Regions from separate parts of the Homo sapiens genome. Here all the other regions are linked to region 3. The links are contacts of gene promoters, found by promoter capture Hi-C in human tissues and cell types (Jung and others, 2019). All regions are on one chromosome and are shown on one strand. Each heading gives the region's core, a stretch centred on a gene start or on the middle of the fragment in contact. The rest is flanking DNA. Distances are from core to core; before and after follow the strand shown.

Evidence for each region. The method cuts DNA at HindIII sites, captures the fragments that hold promoters and counts their contacts. A contact is called where the count stands out against the background at its distance.
Region 1: a fragment that was not itself captured here is called in contact with the fragment with the promoter of SLC5A10 in region 3 in 7 of the 25 tissues and cell types used here (bladder, liver, lymphoblastoid cells and 4 more).
Region 2: a contact is called between a fragment that was not itself captured here and the fragment with the promoter of SLC5A10 in region 3, in 3 of the 25 tissues and cell types used here (dorsolateral prefrontal cortex, mesenchymal stem cells and spleen).
Region 4: a fragment that was not itself captured here is called in contact with the fragment with the promoter of SLC5A10 in region 3 in 2 of the 25 tissues and cell types used here (dorsolateral prefrontal cortex and spleen).

The regions. Positions count from the first base shown.
Region 1 is chr17:18,846,708-18,849,407 of GRCh38, forward strand. No RefSeq gene overlaps it. Among named protein-coding and RNA genes, the nearest start is that of PRPSAP2, 10 kb to the right of the region's middle. The HindIII fragment of the contact is 5,637 bases long and covers 1-2,700 here.
Region 2 is chr17:18,863,440-18,866,139 of GRCh38, forward strand. PRPSAP2 (phosphoribosyl pyrophosphate synthetase associated protein 2) reads left to right here. Exons shown (of 12, transcript NM_002767.4): 2 at 2,030-2,125; 3 at 2,363-2,513. The coding sequence starts at 2,395. Among named protein-coding and RNA genes, the nearest start is that of PRPSAP2, 6.7 kb to the left of the region's middle. The HindIII fragment of the contact is 6,276 bases long and covers 1-2,700 here.
Region 3 is chr17:18,950,912-18,953,611 of GRCh38, forward strand. SLC5A10 (solute carrier family 5 member 10) reads left to right here and starts at 1,254. Exons shown (of 15, transcript NM_001042450.4): 1 at 1,254-1,405. The coding sequence starts at 1,295. The HindIII fragment of the contact is 13,514 bases long and covers 1-2,700 here.
Region 4 is chr17:19,015,070-19,017,808 of GRCh38, forward strand. SLC5A10 (solute carrier family 5 member 10) reads left to right here. Exons shown (of 15, transcript NM_001042450.4): 11 at 1-130. Among named protein-coding and RNA genes, the nearest start is that of FAM83G, 12 kb to the left of the region's middle. RefSeq lists an enhancer at 1-4. The HindIII fragment of the contact is 7,730 bases long and covers 1-2,739 here.

The DNA.
Region 1 (2,700 bases), core at 124-2,623, 100 kb before region 3:
GCTACTAAGTTTGAGACAACTTTAAACTGCAGTTTTCTGTTTAAAAGTTGCCTTCCATCAACTATGTTTAAAATGAAAATGATTTCATATTCCAGAACTATAGACTTAATTTGGAAGTGTGGGTCAAGAGGAATTGTTTAATAATTGCTCTCAGGAAGATCTCTTTTTTTGATGCTTAGTCTTAACCAGAAGAATTCGCTACATAGTTAAAAAACAAACAAACAAACAAACAAACAAAAAGCAATTATTAATTTTGTTTCGGTTTTTAGTATTTTCAGAGACTTCTGCTAAACTCCTAATCTCCAGTGGGATATGTTTGTCTCTTTGTTAATGTATGTAGTTATATGATAGTGATATTCTTTTTTTTATTCCTTAATCTTTTTTTGTTCACTTTCTCTTCCATGCAATGATAGTGATATAATGTGTGTTTACTTCATAAAAAAGTAATTACAATTTTCTGCTGGCAAATCCAGCTTTTTATATTAAGACTAAGTACTAGACTAAATATGTGGGAAATTTACCAAATTATTTTATTTTCAAACAAACATATAACTAATCAGAATATTGCTATTTTTGAACAATATATAATGACTATACTGATATTTAGGAATTTTAACACTAAGATTTTTTTCTTCCCGAGACATTTCCTTGATTTCTTTCATGTAATATGTGCCTGTTATTTTTAAAACTTGGTTTAATCTGTTTAAACATTATTGTATTTAAAAACAAAACCCAAAACATAGCACAGATCTAAATATGAGTTTCATGTGTGAGAGTCATTGCCTGTGTGCAGTGGACTCCAGCTGTTTTTTTTTTTTTTTTTGAGACGCAGTCTCGCTCTGTCGCCCAGGCTGGAGTGCAGTGGCGCCATCTCAGCTCACTGCAAGCTCCGCCTCCTGGGTTCCCGCCATTCTCCTGCCTCAGCCTCCCGAGTAGCTGGGACTACAGGCACCCGCCACCGCACCCAGCTAATTTTTTGTATTTTTAGTAGAGACGGGGTTTCACCGTGGTCTCAATCTCCTGACCTCATGATCCGCCCGCCTCGGCCTCCCAAAGTGCTGGGATTACAGGCGTGAGCCACCACGCCCGGCCAGCTGTTTTTTTTTCTTTTCTTTTTTCTTTGTGACAGAGTCTCACTCTGTCACCAGGCTGGAGTGCAGTGGCAATCTCAGCTCACTGCAACCTCCAGCTCCTGGGTTCAAGCGATTCTTCTGCCTCAGCCTCCCGAATAGCTGGGACTACAGGTGCGCCACCATGCCCAGCTAATTTTTGTATTTTTAGTAGAGATGGGTTTCACCAAGTTGGCCAGGCTGGTCTTGAACTCCTGACCTCAGGTGATCCTCCCACCTTGGCCTCCCAAAGAGTTGGGATTACAGGCGTGAGCCACCGTGCCCGGCCTGTATTTTATTTTTATTTTTTTATTTTTGAGGACGGAGTTTCGCTCTTGTTGCCCAGGCTGGAGTGCAGTGGTACGATTTCAGCTCACTGCAACCTCCGCCTCCCGGCTTCAAGCAATTCTCCTGCCTCAGCCTCCCGAGTAGCTGGGATTACAGGTGCCCACGACCACACCTAGCTAATTTTTTGTATTTTTGGTAGAGACGAGGTTTCACCATGTTCGAGGCCAGGCTGGTCTCGAACTCCTGAACTCAGGTGATCCACCTGCCTCAGCCTCCCAAAGTGCTGGGATTACAGGTGTGAGCCACTGCACCCGGCCTGTAAGTAATTGTTATTTTGTTTTCTGTTATATGCAGCCATCTCCTGATATATGATCTGGGCCACCCTCTTAGATTCAAAGGCAGAATCAACAGGAATCTGATCTAACTGTTCTGAGCCCTGGAGCTTGGGCCCAGGCCTGTCTCCTCGGCTTCCTCCTGGATGGTGGGCTGCGAGGGCGGTTACAGCATTGTCCATCCATGTCCCCAGCTCTGAGTCCCTCACCTTCCAGACTCTCCTCAGCTGTCACCAACTGTTTGAGTTAGTTTCCCCAGGCCTCTCAGCTTCTACCTCTAAATGCCAGCAAAGGAGTGAAATCACACACCGGGAAAGCCTGTGGGAGGTGGAAGCTTCCCAGAGCAGGGCCTCAGTGGAGACAGGATTTCCGCAAGCAAAGAAGGGAACAACAGCACAGGCAGAGCTGCAGAGGTAGCGGAGGGGCTGGAGGGCAGCTGCACTGAGGGCAGGTGCCCAGAGGGAGTGGGAGGGAAGTCAAGACAGACAGTCCACAGGGACTGCAAGCAGGGCAGAAGACCTGTCCTTCAGGCCGGCAGATTTTAAAAAATAAACTTTAAGCCAGGTGCAGGGGCACATGTCTGTAGTCCTAACTACTTGGGAAGCTGAGGCAGCAGGATCACTGGAATCCAGGAGGCTGGGGCTGCAGTGAGCTATGATCACACCACTGTACTCCAGCCTGGGCGACAGAGTAAGACTCCGTCTCAAAAAAAAAAAAAAATTAAAAATGAGTTACTTATATCATCTGGATATATGTCCTTTGTCATCGGATATAGGTCCTTTGTCTTCAGATATATGTAGTGTGAATATTTTCTCCCAATCTGTGTCTTTCGATATAGGCAGTTAAAAAAAAATGAATGTATTTAATCCTTTCAAAGGCTCTACACTATTTTGGGAGAATGAGAGGGCTTCAATCTGTTACACACAGACTTAGAGTGATATGTCACAGAATTACATCTAGGTAAGAAGCAA
Region 2 (2,700 bases), core at 138-2,637, 87 kb before region 3:
AGAAGTATTTAAGATCCCTTCCAGAATGTTGATGATTAAACGTATTCTTTCTTTCTTTTCTTTCTTTCTTCCCTTTCTTTCTTCTTCTCTTTTCTTTTCTTTTCTTTATTTGAAACGGAGTCTCGCTCTGTCGCCCAGGCTGGAGTGCAGTGGCGCGATCTTGGCTCACTGCAAGCTCTGCCTCCTGGGTTCATGCCATTCTTCTGCCTCAGCCTCCCGATTAGCTGGGACTACAGGCACCTGCCACCACGCCCGGCTAATCTTTTGTATTTTTAGTGGAGACAGCGTTTCGCCATGTTGTCCAGGCTGGTCTCGAACCCCTGACCTCAGGTGATCCACCCACCTCGGCCTCCCAAAGTGCTGGGATTACAGGCGTAAGCCACTGCGTGGCCTTTTTTTTTTTTTTTTTTTTTTAATTTTTTAGATGGAGTTTTGTTCTCATTGCCCAGGTTGGAGTGCAGTGGATCTCAGCTCACTGCAACTTCTGCCTCCTGGGTTTAAGCGATTCTCCTGCCTCAGCCTCATGAGTAGCTGGGATTACAGGCATGTACCACCATGCCTGGCTTATTTTTATTTTTATTTTTTTGTATTTTTAGTAGAGATGGGGTTTCACCATGTTGGTCAGGCTGGTCTCGAACTCCTGGCCTCAAGTGATCTGCCCACCTCAGCCTCCCAAAGTGCTAGGATTACAGGCGTGAGCCACTGTGCCTGGCCGTATATAATTTTTATGGAGGTCACATGTATAAATGCATAGAAAAAGTCTTATGTTGTCCCTACCAAACTGATAAGAACCCTCACTTCTGGGGAGGACCTGGGATCGAGGCTGGTGACTTTATCCTTAACTATCATGTTTCAGGTTTTTTTTTTTTTCTGAGACGGAGTCTCGCTCTGTTGCCCAGGCTGGAGTACAGTGGTGCAATCTTGGCTCACTGCAACCTCTGCCTCCTGAGTTCAAGCGATTCTCAAGCCTCAGCCTCTAGAGTAGCTGGGACTATAGGCAGCCACCACCACGCCCAGCTCATTTTTGTATTTTTAGTAGAGACAGATTTCACCCTTTTGGCCAGGCTGGTCTTGAACTCCTGACCTTGTGATCCGCCTGCCTTGGCCTCCCAAAGTGCTGGGATTACAGGTCTGAGCCACCGCGCCCAGCCATGTTTCAGGTTTTTATAGGGAGGATGTGTTTGTGTTTTACTTGTATAATTAAAATTTGAGAATAATGAAAAAGATTAGCTTAGTTTCAGCTCATTGATGATCTACACCAGCCTTCCCAGAGGTCCCAGGTGAACATACAACTGTGGAAATGCAGTGGGCTTGCTGAGAAAGGGCCCCCCTGCCCACAGCCTGCTGGATTGTTGCTGTTCCTCCCATCTAGCATCTCCATTATGTGATGAGGACACTCAGCAATGATGACGACTTTTTTTTTTTGAGATGGAGTCTTGCTGTGTCGCCAGGCTGGAAGTGCAGTGGCACGATCTCAGCTCACTGCAACCTCTGCCTCCCAGGTTCACGTCATTCTCCTACCTCAGCCTCCCGAGTAGGTGGGACTACAGGCACGCGCCACCATGCCCAGCTATTTTTTGTATTTTTAGTAGAGACAGGGTTTCACCATGTTGGCCAGGGTGGTCTTGATCTCTTGATCTCGTGATCTGCCTGCCTTGGCTTCCCAAAGTGCTAGGATTACAGGCGTGAGCCACCACATCTGACCAGCACTGATGATTTATAAGCCAGGGACCTTTTTATTTTTGGCCCACTGCCAAAATTTGGGTGTGACCAAAACTGTCATTTGGGTGGTCGCTTAAGTGTCCTTCAAGGTGATTATCTAGTCAGCCCGTGTTCCACTTGAGGAAAATGAAGATGAGAGGTCAGTTTTAGACATGACACAGGGCAGCTGAAAGGCCGGGAAAGGTTTTATGGTAAACAAGGATTACAGGAAAAGCTGGGTGTAGATGGGTCATTTATTCTTTGTCTAAGGATTAATCAGTCCTTGTTCTCGCTAATGGCTCTGCCATTTTTCTGTGTGTTAATCCAGGAGGAATTTTGTTGTCAGAGAATAAAAGGAGGTTGTCCATAATTGACTTTAAGCAGCAATCAGTAAAACATTGAGCTCTTCAGCTCCGCCTTTCTTGTAAGTTTATCATTTCTTCTTAGTGGTTGTGAACATCATGTGATAATGTATTTCCATAAATTTAGGACCCTGAAATCCAACTGAACTTTCTGTTTGTCCATATATATCTAATATTTAAAAAATACTATTAGGATGGAAACTAATTTCCTTCAGCTGAAGTCATTTCCTTTAAAAAAAATTCATTCAGGTATATTTCATATCATATGGCAGTTTTTAATAAGTATTATATCCTTCTAGGCTCTGAAAATTGGAAAACCAAGAAGGTTTTGATGTTTTGTGTGACGCCACCTGAATTAGAAACCAAGATGAACATAACCAAAGGTGGTCTGGTGTTGTTTTCAGCAAACTCGAATTCATCATGTATGGAGCTATCAAAGAAAATTGCAGAGTGAGTTATAATTGTACCATTAAAATCTATATTCATTATGTGATGCTTTAAATTTGATAATCAGATTAGCAGTTATTGTTAAATTTGAAAGCAGATATTTTATAATTATAAAATAATTATATCTTTTTTTCATCATGTATCTTTTTTTTCATCATGCAAGATGTTCATGTAGTATGTCTCATCTGTA
Region 3 (2,700 bases), core at 4-2,503:
TGCCATGTTGGCCAGGCTGGTCTCAAACTCCTGATCTCAGGTGATCCACCCGCCTTGGCCTCCCAAAGGCATGAGCCTCCCAAGGGCATGAGCCACTGCTCCTGGCCGAGGGGATTAATTTTTACCCGCACCTCAGGGTTATTGAGTAACAGGCTGGCTGGGTTTGCAGGCCAGCGTGTTCCTGGTGGCAGCCGCTCACTCATTAACACTTCTGGAAGTGCTGCATGTCTGGTTAAACTGCAAATGCTTTGCAAAGTCACGAGTCATGTCACTGAGCAGAGGCGTGAGACTGCCGGCCAGCCCTGCTGTGTACACTGATAGAATTAGTGAGCGAGCGTCCCACTCTGATGGAATCCAGATGGAACTCGTCACTGTCACTGCGGTGGAGACGGTGGGGCCACATCTGCACTGAATCCTACTCTGCGCCTTCAATGGCTGCGTAATGGCGGATGGCCATTTCCTTGACTAGGATGAGACATTGCCTACTCTGCGTGGCTGCTGTGAGCGTGAAATGGGATCATGTGCGGAACAGCCACGCATGGTCCGTGAAATGGGATCATGTGCAGAACAGCCACGCATGGTCCTTGGTGTGTGACAGATATTGGGTCCCTCTGTGGTCCCAGGCAGACATTGCCCGGGGTGGGGGCCGAATGCATGGTCAAGTTGAGGGGCCTGGGACTGTTTCACGGGTCTAGAAAAAGAAAGCAGAAACGCTGGAAGCAGGACTTTATTGTCCGACATGGGGCTGCCTCTGAGCCTGGGCTGTGTTGGCTGGACGTGAGCCATAATGCAGGTGTCCCCCTCCCAAGCCCTGCTCAGTCCACTCACAGCCCGATGGCCAAGGGAGGACATGGCTGCCCGCCACGGCAGTATCTTCAGAGGTGAGGCGGTTGTCCCTACGCTCTATGCTTCTTATACAAATTAGATATAGGTGAAGCCACCCATTAAGCAACCCAGCCTTTCTGGGACTATTTGGGCTGCCTCCGGGTCCACTAAATGCGGTTCATTTTCCCCAAGCCCCCTCCGAGTTCAAGGAGGCTCCTTCCTTTCCTCCTCCCACTTGCTTCTCCCAGGCTCCCTGACTCCTGCGCTCTGGGATCTGCACCCCACCATGGGGTGAGGAAGCTGAACTGCATGGTGAGGCAGCTGCCCTGCATGCAGCCACATCATGGGCTGGAGATGCCACTGTCCGCTTGGTTTAATGATCAATGAGCTCCCTGCCAGGAAACCCTTTCTGACCTGGTTTGCCCCTCAGTCCCTCGGGCTCATACCTAGTGCCTGCGGCAGGACAGCCATGGCCGCCAACTCCACCAGCGACCTCCACACTCCCGGGACGCAGCTGAGCGTGGCTGACATCATCGTCATCACTGTGTATTTTGCTCTGAATGTGGCCGTGGGCATATGGGTAAGGGGACCTGTGGTGGTGTTGGCCAAGTGGGCTCTCAGGGTTGGTGCTTGGGGTGGGAACCGGGGTCCAGCATGTCCCTGTGGTGTCAGCATTGGTCCCAGCTGGTGGCCTAGTGATCCTTGTGGTCCTCCTCCCAGCCTGGGGTAGACTTGCTTGGAGACCTTGACCAAGCCCGTTTCTCTCTTTGGGTAATGGCGTCTCCATCTGCAAAGTGAGGAGGAGGAAATTCTCTCTAACAGGTAACTGGGCTTTTGTGCTGCTGCCCAGCTGGAGTCCTTGGGTGTGGCCCATCAGCCTCCTGGTCCCAGTCTCCATGGTGTCAGTGACTCCTGTCTGCTTGAACAACAGGCTCCCCGGGATTCCCTGGCTGCACCCCAGAGCTGCTGGATCAGAATCCGGAGGCAGGGAGGGCCCTGGGAACTGGGGGTCTTTATTTTGAACAAGCTCCCTGGGGATTTATGTCCTGTGGCCTAGCCCTAGATCATAAGCCGGTTCTTTCTCCCTTCATAACAGTGAGAAATGAGCAGAGATCTGACCCCACACACAGATTCCAGGGGCAGCGGGGCCCCTGGGGACAGGCTGTTTCATGTGCAGATGGAGAAACCGAGGCTCTGGCCCTGCAGCAAGGGAAGGGCTCCTCTGGTCTATCGTGGAGGCCTTCCTGAGGGAAGGTGGACACAGCCTGGTTCAGGTCACCTGCTCCACGCTTAGCGCCTGGGGATGTTGGGCTCCACTTCTTAAGCCCCAGAGGTCCCCAGCCTGGCATCCCTGAGCCCTGACAGTCTCCTGGGGAGAATGAGTACCCCTTCTTTTTTTTTTTTTTTTTTTTTAACTGAGACGGAGTCTAGCACTGTCACCTGGGCTGGAGTGCAGTGGCACTATCTCGGCTCACTGCAACCTCCACCTCCTGGGTTCAAACAATTCTGCCTCAGCCTCCTGAGTAGCTGGGATTACAGGCGTCCACTACCACACCCAGGTAATGTTTTGTATTTTTAGTAGAGACAGAGTTTTACCGTGTTGGCCAGGCTAGTCTCGAACTCCTGACCTCATGATTTGCCCGCCTCGGCCTCCCAAAGTGCTAGAATTACAGGCGTGAGCCACCGCGCCCGGCCGAGTACCCGTTCTTATCTTCCATAACCCCTGGCCTAAGCACGAAGGCCTGGCAAACAGGAGACTGGTCACGTCCCCTCAGCTTCCTGGGCCTCAGTGTTCTGATCTGTTATATGGAGACACCACCTACCTGGGGTGAGGTCTGCTATCAAGGGGCCCACACAGGACCAGACCTTGCTGCT
Region 4 (2,739 bases), core at 5-2,504, 64 kb after region 3:
CAGTGATGCTGGCGGCGCTCATGTCGTCGCTGACCTCCATCTTCAACAGCAGCAGCACCCTCTTCACTATGGACATCTGGAGGCGGCTGCGTCCCCGCTCCGGCGAGCGGGAGCTCCTGCTGGTGGGACGGTACGGGGGTGGGGGCCAGTACGGGGGTGGGGGAACACTACAAGGGTGGGCGCCCGCACTGACTTTGAGGGATGAGCCGGAGTTTGCCACTTAGAGAAAGGTGGATGCCAGGAAGGAGGGAAGAGAAGGGCCAGTGTACCCCATCCATACCACCTCTCACATTGCTCTCCTGTCCACCTCTGTGTGATCACAGCCCTCATCTGGGATGCATCTCCACCCTTGAGCTGGATTCCTTCTGCAGGGGCCAGCCCTCCCTCCCCAACCATGCCACAGATCTCTCTATCTCCCCGAAAACCTGGGCCCCCATTCCTCCTGATGGTTCCCAGCTGCGCCACAGAGGGCCCCCGGGCCAGCACTCAGGACTGGCCACACTTGGGCTGCCACGTCCCTCAGCCTCCATGGCCCTGGCCCTACTGAGCTCCAGCTTGTTTCCTCCCAGCCCAGCTTGTCCCCTCCTTTTTCACCTCGATGACTCATGCTGATCTTTCTGGACTCTGCCTGTGTCCCCTCCTCCGTGCAGTCCTCCCTGAGACCCTCAACCAAGGAATGAGCCTCTCTCCCCTTCATACCCCAGGGACGCTTGCCAGATTCTTCCCACAGCACATGTGGCCATTACAGGCCAAGAGACCTCCCCGACACCCTTCTCCAAATATCTGGGCGCTTCATGAGGACCGGGGCTGTGTCTGGAGAACAGGTGGTGTTTGGTTACATGAATAAGTTCTTTAGTGGCGATTTCTCAGATTTTGGTGTATCCATCACCCGAGTGGTATACACTGTACCCAATGTGTAGTCTTTTATCCCTCACACCCTCCCAGCGTTTCCCCTGAGTCCTCAAAGTCCATTGTATCATTCTTTTTTTTTTTTTTGAGACAGTCTCGTTTTGTCACCCAGGCTGGAGTGCAGTGGTATGATCTTGGCTCCCTGCGACCTCCACCTCCCGGGTTCAAGAGATTCTCGTGTCTCAGCCTCTTGAGTAGCTGGGATTGCAGGAGCGCACCACCACGCCTGGCTACTTTTTGTATTTTTAGTAGAGACAGGGTCTCACCATGTTGGCCAGGCTGGTCTCGAACTCCTGACCTCAGGTTATTCATCCACCTCAGCGGGCTGGGATTACAGGTATGAGCCAGTGTGCCCAGCCCATCCTATCACTCTTATGCCTTTACATCCTCAGAGGTTAGCTCCCATGTGCACGTGTCTATTTGCGCCCTCCCTGGCCCTCCAGTCCCACCCTCTTGTTGTCCTCTGAGCAGTGTGGCTCACACTCTGCTGCTCGGGGGTCCAGCCTTCTGGCACAACAGAGCACCCCCTGGCCAGGAGCCCAGGGCACCCATCCTGGGGGTGGGGTCTCCTCCAGAGCTCCAGGCAGCTGTCCCAGGGATGCAAAATAGTCAGGCTTCTGTTGGAAGGGCCCTGTTGGGACACGCCAGAGGCGGGTGCGAGTGAGCTCATCCACGGGCTCACAGGATTCTCCAAAACAAGGAGCCTCCCACCTCTCACTGGGCAGGACACTTCCATGTCCCTGTGTCCTGGGCACTTGGCCCCTTGACCACTTCTCCCCCTCTGGCTCCCCTGCCTCTCCTCAGAAGCTGTGTGGCCTGGGGAAGACCCTGCCCCTCTCTGACCATGTGTCTCCTCTGAGGCCAGACCTTGCTCTAAGCCCCTCCATGCTCCAGCATCCTGGGCCCTGGGAACTGGATGCCCTCCTGCCACCCAGTGTGTGACACTGGTAGCCCCTGTACCTGCCCAGTGGCCCTCATGTCCCCTGCCCACTACTTCCTGGCCTCCTCACCCAGACTCCCACCTGCAACCAAAAGTCTTGACCTGGCCTCCTGCTGCGCCAGCTCACCCAGCTGCCCGTGCCCTTGACCCTCCTTCCCACCTCTTCTGCCAAGTCAACCCCCGCCCCTAGCCCTGCAAGCCTGGCAGTCGGCCTCCCTGAGGAGCAAGGCACAAGGCTGCGTGGTGCAGGGCAGGTTGCTCACCCTCTCTGGGCCCCAGTTCTCTCAGCTGCCAGCTGGATAGAGCAGAAAGGGCCCCGTGCCAGGTGTCAGGCTGGCCAGCTCAACTTCCCGTCCCTCTTACAGCACTGGGATACCCTCAACACCCCCAGCCCCTCAAAGCCGTCTCAGCTTCCTCCTGCCCGAAACACCACCATTGGAGCGGTATCTCCTAGGCCTCGTGGTCATGGATCTCTGGTAGGGTGAATGGCCTGACAACAGTCTCTGTCAGGGAGAGGCGAGGCTTACAGAGAGAAGACCAACAGCCCAGAGGCCTGGAGAGGAGGCCATCGCAGGGCCGGGTGCAGTACCATGCCGGTGACCCTGATGGCTCTGTCCAGCTGAGCAGAGGCTGGAGGAGCCGTCACAGGCTGGGGGAGAGCGATGACCCGCCCCCACTCCCGTATGCCTGCCCCAAGCCCCCACACCTCAGTCCACTGTTCCGCCACTGCCCCCCTGCCCCACTCTCCCCTGTCTGTGTTCCCGGCTGTTCAGTCCGTAAATGGGGCCCACAGCCTCCTGGAAACCCTGTGCAGGACTCGGAGAGATCTCAGACACCCCTCCTTGAGATGTTCCACAGTAACTGTGGCTGCAGCCCAGGGAGATGCTGGA